Regions from separate parts of the Homo sapiens genome. Here region 2 is linked to region 1. Evidence: promoter capture Hi-C in human tissues and cell types (Jung and others, 2019). All regions are on one chromosome and are shown on one strand. Each heading gives the region's core, a stretch centred on a gene start or on the middle of the fragment in contact. The rest is flanking DNA. Distances are from core to core; before and after follow the strand shown.

Region 1 (3,732 bases), core at 461-2,960:
TGGCCACCGGGCATTTGGAATGTGGAATCTGGAATAACGGTGCAGCTGAGGAACTGAACTGTTAATTTTATTTATTTCAATTCAGTGTCATGCAGTGAGTGGCCACCAGATTAGACAGGGTCAGGCCTTCTCCCCTTTCTTCCTGGGCCTTCCCACTTTCCTCTTCTGCCTGGGTTGGACTGCCTTTACCCAAGCTTGTCCTGTGACCTCTCTCTGTTGACAGTGGCTTCCAAAGAGGCTGGCATGGGGCACTCATCTCTTCTGCTCAGTCTGTGTCCTCCCACTCCCTGATCTGACCCCGTGCCACCTTCTGGCTCTGCCAGCCTCTACCTGGTTCCTGTAGTGCCGCACAGAGCCTCCCTTTCCCGGCACAGCCTCCCTTTCCCGGCATAGCCAGCTTTCTTCAGGGTCCTGCCAGGAAGGGCCGCCCCCCCAACATTTCCAGATTGCCTCTGTCCCTCCACTCTGGGGTGCCTGGAAGGACTGTCCAGGACCCAGAGAGCAGGCAGAGCCCTGGATTCCTATCCTGGAATCCTCCCCCAGGATGAAGAAGCTCTGCCTGCCTGAACCCTCCAGCGATGGGCCTGGAGTCCTGTCCCTGTCCTTTCCTTAATCCCCAGCCTCTGGATCTTCCAGTCACCCCGGCTTTGCCCACCCTCACCCCATTTAGAAGCTGGGCTCGCTAGGAAACTGCTCCCTTAGCATCTGCAGAACTTCCTCAAGAAGTGAAATCCCCAGGTCCACTTTGAAGGAGAGGAAGGGATCACTGAGGTCTGGGGTAGGTGTCCTCTGGAAGCAGGGAGTGTCCACAAGGCCCTTCTCTGAGTGCTGGTGGAGGGCACTCGACAGAGAGAGCGCCGATGGCAGGGTGGCAGAGTAGGCTGCTGTGTAGGCAGGTGGGGGCTCCAGGATGTTGGGGCAGCTTGAGCTCTCTCGGTAGAGGCGTGGGGGCTTGGGTGGGGCCAGCAGGGTGGCCCGGGGCTGCTCGTCCCCCCACAGTGGCAGGCGCCGGCCATCTGGCCTCCCTTGTAGCTCCCGGATGACTTCTCGGTTGCTGTACTCCTCGTGGTCCCCACCTGCTGTGCTGGCCTGGCTAAGCACACTACTCTGTCGCCGGAGCCGCCGTGGCCGCCCCAGGCTCAGCTGCTTGAAGAAGGAGGCGTTGCGGAAGGAGCCTTTCCGCCAGGTCTCCATGGGGCCCAGGGGAGCCAGCAGACAGGTGTTCAGGAGCAGCCAGGGTGCATGTGGTCCCTGCTGGGGCAGTGAGTGCCAGCAGCTGGGGAGGCTCCCCTAGGAGCAGAGGCCTCAGGGTTTCCACTCAGCACAGACCTTTGACCACATCTTGGATGGTGAGAGGAGGGCTCAGGAAGAAGGAACTTTTTTGCCCAGGAGAGCAGACAGCTGGGAGTTCCTGGCAGCAAGAGTTTCCCACAGGGACAGGAGTGGCCTGGTTACTGAATAGGGTAGTGGAAAAAAACCCAGGAGGAAGAAGCAGCACTTACTGGAGCCAGAATGAGGGCAGCTCCGGCGGAGGCAGAGGTGGACCTTCTCGGGCTGGGTGAGGCTGGCGAGCGCTCCTTCCACAGGCAGGCAGCAGATGGCCCGAGCTCACTCGCCCTGGTGTTTGCCTGGCTCCTATATGTCTCTGGGGCAGTGTGGGGCCGTGCCCTCTCTGCCAGTGGCTCCCGGACTCTGATGAGTGGCCTGGCTGTTTGTGGCGGTGGAGATGTGTTTTTGTTCTCAGCTGACTCAGTCAGGTGGGAAGCCAGGTTTCGTGCTCTTGGGTAATTGCAGCATCCGCGTGCAGGGATGGGGCAGCTGGGACCAACACCCCAGGGCAATGGGGAGCTTAAGATTCCTCTGGGGACTCGTGTGGGGGCAGCCCTGCTTTATGTGTCACCACGCGGCTTCCTTTCTGATCACAGCCCCACCACCCTGGGCCCCCAGCAGGTGCGCCTGGCTCCCTGCCCACAGTGTCTGGGTAGGAAGAGTTCGGGGCGGGTGGGAGTTAATTGAAAGGCAGGCGTGTGGAACGATTGTTGGGGAAGGAAGAGACCTGTAGCTGGTATGGGTGACTCAGCCCCGCTGTCAGGCCCTCACGAGCAGGAACAGGAAGGGGGGCAGAGGGTGTGTTAATGGGGAGCAGCGCCATGCCTGTGATGGGCGGGCTCTGCTGCCCAGGGTTGGGCTGGGGGCCCGCCAAGGGTGGCTCCAAGTTTTCTTGGCAGAGCAGCATTAACCTGGGGATGGGAGATGTGGCCTCCTCTTGGCCTGCCATCAGCCTGGCTGCTATTTCCTTGTCCTCCCTTGTTTTACCCTAGAGGGCTCCTGCCAGGAGAGCGGCTGCTGAAGGCCGGGCCGTGTTGCCTCCTACCTGGCTGTGCTCCAGCCCTTCCCCTCTGGCTACCGGGCTTCCTCTGGGGTCCTCCTTCTCTTGCAGGAGGCTGGGCCAGGGAGGCTGCCGTGAATTGTCAGCCGTGCTCTGGGCCAGGCTTAGCAGTCCGGCCTAGCTGGGACTGCTGCAGCCGGGGAGAGGGGAGGGGTGCAGCCATCGGGAGGAACAGGGGAACCCAGGCTGAGTAACACTTCCTGTTTCTCTACACCCCTTACTCCAAACCTGCTGGCCAGGGCCTGGCATCTCAACCCTAGCTGCTCCCTTCCTATTCCCCGGGTCACTGACCACCACATTTTCCTCCTGCCTTGCTCTGTGACAGCGTCCCCATGCGGGGTACCGCGGATCAGGGCCCCACAGCTCTCTGCTACGGGCAGGCCACCGCATCTTGCAATCCCTGGCCTAGCTCACTTCTGTGCCAACTCAGGTGTGCTTCACACTTCTCTGAGAAGCTGTTGGGACCACATGATCATCACACAGCCTAAGCGGCACCGAGGGAGGAAAAGGTTTAATTCCCACCGCAGACCTTATCAGGGCGTGGGTTGGCAGCTTAGGTCCCGCTGTAGAGCTGCTTCTCCACCCTACAGCCTTGGCCCATTCAGATGGTTGTTTATTATTCTTTTGATTATGGGCCCTGCCCTCCAGGAGCCCTGGTGTGTAGTTTTAGAGGCACGCTGGCCTCATGCTTGCCTTTTTCCCCTTCGAGGGTGGGGCATTCCGGGCTGCCTCGGGTAGGGCTCCCTTCTGCATCCTCAGCAAGAGCCAGACCACAGGGCACCGGGCATAGAGAGTGCCAGGGTCAGTGCCCAGCAGAGCCAAGTGCATCCCTGCTCCTCAGACAACTTCCCTTCCTTGGGAACCTAAGAGGCAGAAGCTACGGGGTAGAGGGAAAGGGGTGAAGGGTAAAGGGCCCAGAGGAAATGAAGGGAGACGAGGGCCTGGCTTAGAGGGCCCGCAGGTGATTCCTGAGAAACAGATGGACCGGAGCTGACGCGGCCTGGGGAAAGGGAGGGGGAGCTGGCTGGGTAGAAGCCGGCCTGGAGGCCAAAGGTGGCGTGTTCTGGGGGACACAGGCGAGCCAGGATTCCAAAAGGATGCTCCGGGTTCCTTCCCTTCCTCTGCCGTCCTCCCTCCGAGACTCTTAGAACGCAGCACTGCCTCGGCACCGTACTCGGAGTCTGTGAGGCTGTGCCCTGCTGTCCCTGACCCCTCCCTGTCCCTGCCCTGTCCGACAGGGCTCAGTGCTGTCAGAGAGGGACTACGAGAGCCTCGTCATGATGCGCATGCGCCAGGCGGCCGAGCGGCAACAGCTGATCGCACGGATGCAGCAGGAAGACCAG
Region 2 (3,732 bases), core at 329-2,828, 550 kb before region 1:
TAGTGGTAGACGCCTGTAATCCCAGCTACTCAGGAGGCTGAGGCACGAGAATTGTTGGAACCTGGGAGGCAGAGGCTGCAGTGAGCTGAGATCACGCCACTGTGAGATCACGCCACTGCACTCCAGCCTGGGAGACATAGTGAGATTCTGTCCAAAGGAAAAAAAAAAAAAAGTAGCTGGGCATGCTAGTGCACACCTGTAATCCCAGCTACTTGGGAGGCTGCGGCAAGAGAATTGCTTCAACCTGAGAGGTGGAGGTTGCACAGTGAGCTGAGATTGCACCACTACACTCCAGCCTGGGTGACAGAACAAGACTCTGTCTCAAAAAAAAAAAAAAGAAAAAAGACAAAGTGTTTGTACCAAAAAGATGCTAAAGTCAGGCACTGTCTTTGACAAAAAGATAGCAGTGGGCCAGGTGTGATGGCTCGCGCCTGTAATGCCAATGCTTTGTGAGGCCAAGGTGGGAGGACTGCTTGAGGGCAGGAGTTCAAGACCTCCATGGGCAATATAGTGAGACTCCTGTTTTTTTTTTATACAAAATTTTAAAAAATTAGCTGGATGTGGCGGCGTGCCCCTATAGTCCCAGTTACTTGGGAGGCTGAGGTGGGAGGATCACCTGAGCCCAGGAGTTCAAGGTTACATTTTGCTGTGATCATACCACTGCATTCCACTTTGGGTGACAAAAAAAAAAAAAAGCAGTGGGACCAAAATATAATCTTATAACATTATGATTATCTTCCATGTCTTATCATACCATATCTTAAAAGTCATACCATGGGAAAATTCAGAGGGTATTCTTTCATTAAAGAAACTTGTTGCCAGATGTGGTGGTGTGTGCCTGTAATTCTAGCTACCCAGGAGGCTGAGGCAGGAGGATCACTTGAATCTTGGTGTTTGAGACCAGCCTAGGCAACATGGTGAAGCCTCCCATCTCAAACTGCTCCCTTATGGGCCGGGTGCAGTGGCTCACGCCTGTAATCCCAGCACTTTGGGAGGCTGAGGTCGGGGGTTCACCTGAGGTCAGGAGTTCGAGACCAGCTTGGCCAACATGGTGGAACCCCATCTCCATTTAAAATACGAAAATAAGCCAAGTGTGGTGGCACACGCCTGTGGTCGCAGCTACTCGGGAGGTGAGGCAGAAGAATTGCTTGAACCCAGGAGGCGGAGGTTGCAGTGAGCCAAGATCAAGCCACTGCACTTCAGCCTGGGTGACAGAGCTAGACTCTGTCTCAGAAAAAATAAAAATAAATAAAAGATAAAAAGAACATTCTAGAAGGCAAGCTTTTGCAAAATAATGTTGCAGTAGATACCTTTTGGGTTTGTGCCCAGCCTCTCTCTCCCTCTAATAGGTGGGGCCTTGTATATTTGTATCATGTGTGATTTGTATCATGTGTGATTCCCACTCCCAGGTACTGGATCAAGAATGAATACCTGGCCAGGCATGGTGGGTCATGCCTGTAATCTCAGCACTTTGGAAGGCTGAGTTGGAGGATTGTTTGAGCTTAGGAGTTTGAGACCAGCCTAGGCAACATAGCAAGACTCTGTCTCTACAAAAAATTTAAAATATTAACTGTGTATGGTGGTGTATGCCTGTAGTCCTAGCTACTCTGGAGGCTAAGGTGGGAGGATAGCTACAGCCCAGGAGTTCAAGGTTACAGTGAGCTATGATTGTGTCACTGTATTCTAGCATGGGGAGCAGAGCAAGACCCTGTCTCTTAAAAACCAAAAACGGTGCTGGGCGTGGTAGCTCACGCCTGTAACCCCAGTACTTTGGGAGGCCGAGGTGGGCAGATCATGAGGTCAGGAGATCGAGATCATCCTGGCCAACATGGGAAACCCCGTCTCTACTAAAAATACAAAAAAAATTAGCTGGGCATGGTGGCGCATGCCTGTAATCCTAGCTACTTGGGAGGCTGAGGCAGGAGAATCACTTGAACCGGGGAGTCAGAGGTTGCAGTGAACCAAGATCGCGCCACTGCACTCCAGCCTGGCAACAGAGCGAGACTCTGTCTCAAAAAAAAAAAAAAAAAGAAAAATGGATACCTGACCCAAACTAAGCCAACCAGTTTTCTACCTTAGGAATTTGAAACAAGGGCCCAGAAATACCAGTTACGTGTAGATAGTACTAGTGTTGAAGTTTGGAAGTGAAAGCTCTATGTATGGGATAGCTATTTCCCATGTGATGCATGTAGCTGCAGGGAAGTCTTCTCTGCAGTAAAACATGAAGCAGACACAGAGAAAAGTAAAAATAATGATCATGTAGCCTCATAGTGTCAGAAAAACTACCCTACTGGTTATCCTTTCTCATGAATTACATTGGCTATTTCATTATTTTCCTAATAAATTGCACTTTTAACTTAAGCTTTTTTACTTATTACAAGAAACTGAAACATCCTTAGAAGTCTTTCCTTGACCATTAAAAAACAAAAACAAGCATTGACAACCTAGTTTATGTAGGCATTATGCTTATATCACTGAGTTCTTAATATAGTTTAAGAAAACTAGGGCTCAAAGAGGTGGAAGAGCTGAGATTTGAGCATGTCTTAACTCAAAAGCTTATTTTCCTTTCATAAAACTAAAAGGTTTCCTTTTTCTCATGTCTTTTTTTTTTTTTTTTTTTTTGAGATGGAGTCTTGCTGTGGCGCCCAGGCTGGAGTGCAGTGACGTGATCTTGGTTCACTGTAAGCTTCACCCCCTGGGTTCACACCATTCTCCTGCCTCAGCCTCCCAAGTAGCTGGAACTACAGGCGCCCACCACCACGCTTGGCTAATTTTTTGTATTTTTAGTAGAGACGGGGTTTCACTGTGTTAGCCAGGATGGTCTCGATCTCCTTGACCTCGTGATCCGCCCGCCTTGGCCTCCTAAGGTGCTGGGATTACAGGCATGAGCCACCGCGCCCGGCCGCTTTTTCTCATTTCTTATGCTTAGATAGATGTTTTTAGCTGAGTTATGGTTGACTAAACAATAAAACTTATCAGCCAGTCCTTTACCATGGGTTGCTCACTGTGCATTAGGTATACCATTTGTTCTTCATTGCAAATTTCCAACACAAAATATATACCTGAGATCCTGAGATGGATTGATCATTCTCTTTTTTTAAAGACGGAGTCTCACTCTGTCACCCAGGCTGGAAGTGCAATGGCATGATCTCAGCTCACTGCAACCTGCACCTCCTGGGTTCAAGTGATTCTCCTGCCTGGGCTTCCCAAAATGTTAAGATTACAGGCATTAATCACCATGCCCAGCCTCAATTTTTAGATTCTTTTTTTTTTTCTTTGAGACGGAGTCTTGCTCTTTCGCCCAGGCTGGAGCTGGAGTGCAGTGGCACCATCTCGGCTCACTGCAAGCTCCGCCTCCCAGGTTCACGCCATTGTCCTGCCTCAGCCTCCCGAGTAGCTGGGACTACAGGCGCCCGCCACCATGTCTGGCTAATTTTTTTGTATTTTTAGTAGAGACGGGGTTTTACCGTGTTAGCCAGCATGGTCTTGATCTCCTGCCTTGGCCACCTAAAGTGCTGGGATTACAGGTGTGAGCCACTGCGCCACCAATTTCTAGATTCTTAAGCAATTTCTATTTAGAATTAACTTTAAAGTGGGAAAAAAAACTGTAAATGTGTGCTGTTAGTAATCCCACATCTTTTTTAGAAATCAGTACAAAAGTAAATGTTCTAGAGAAGCAATAATTGCATTTTTGTTAGGGCAGTAAGCTTTTAGTAACATATTTTTAACATA

What was found. Contacts are between HindIII fragments. The study calls those that stand out against the background at their distance.
Region 2: a fragment that was not itself captured here is called in contact with the fragment with the promoter of C15orf62 in region 1 in 1 of the 25 tissues and cell types used here (dorsolateral prefrontal cortex).

Annotation. Positions count from the first base shown.
Region 1 is chr15:40,767,958-40,771,689 of GRCh38, reverse strand. It overlaps C15orf62 (chromosome 15 open reading frame 62), which reads right to left and starts at 1,710. Exons shown (of 1, transcript NM_001130448.3): 1 at 1-1,710. The coding sequence starts at 1,194. The coding sequence ends at 667. DNAJC17 (DnaJ heat shock protein family (Hsp40) member C17) reads left to right here. Exons shown (of 11, transcript NM_018163.3): 11 at 3,628-3,732. RefSeq lists enhancers at 577-1,193, 1,151-1,240, 1,194-1,812, 2,431-3,049. The HindIII fragment of the contact is 9,899 bases long and covers 1-3,732 here.
Region 2 is chr15:41,315,680-41,319,411 of GRCh38, reverse strand. All of the region lies in intron 3 of OIP5 (Opa interacting protein 5), which reads left to right. Among named protein-coding and RNA genes, the nearest start is that of OIP5, 15 kb to the left of the region's middle. The HindIII fragment of the contact is 5,957 bases long and covers 1-3,732 here.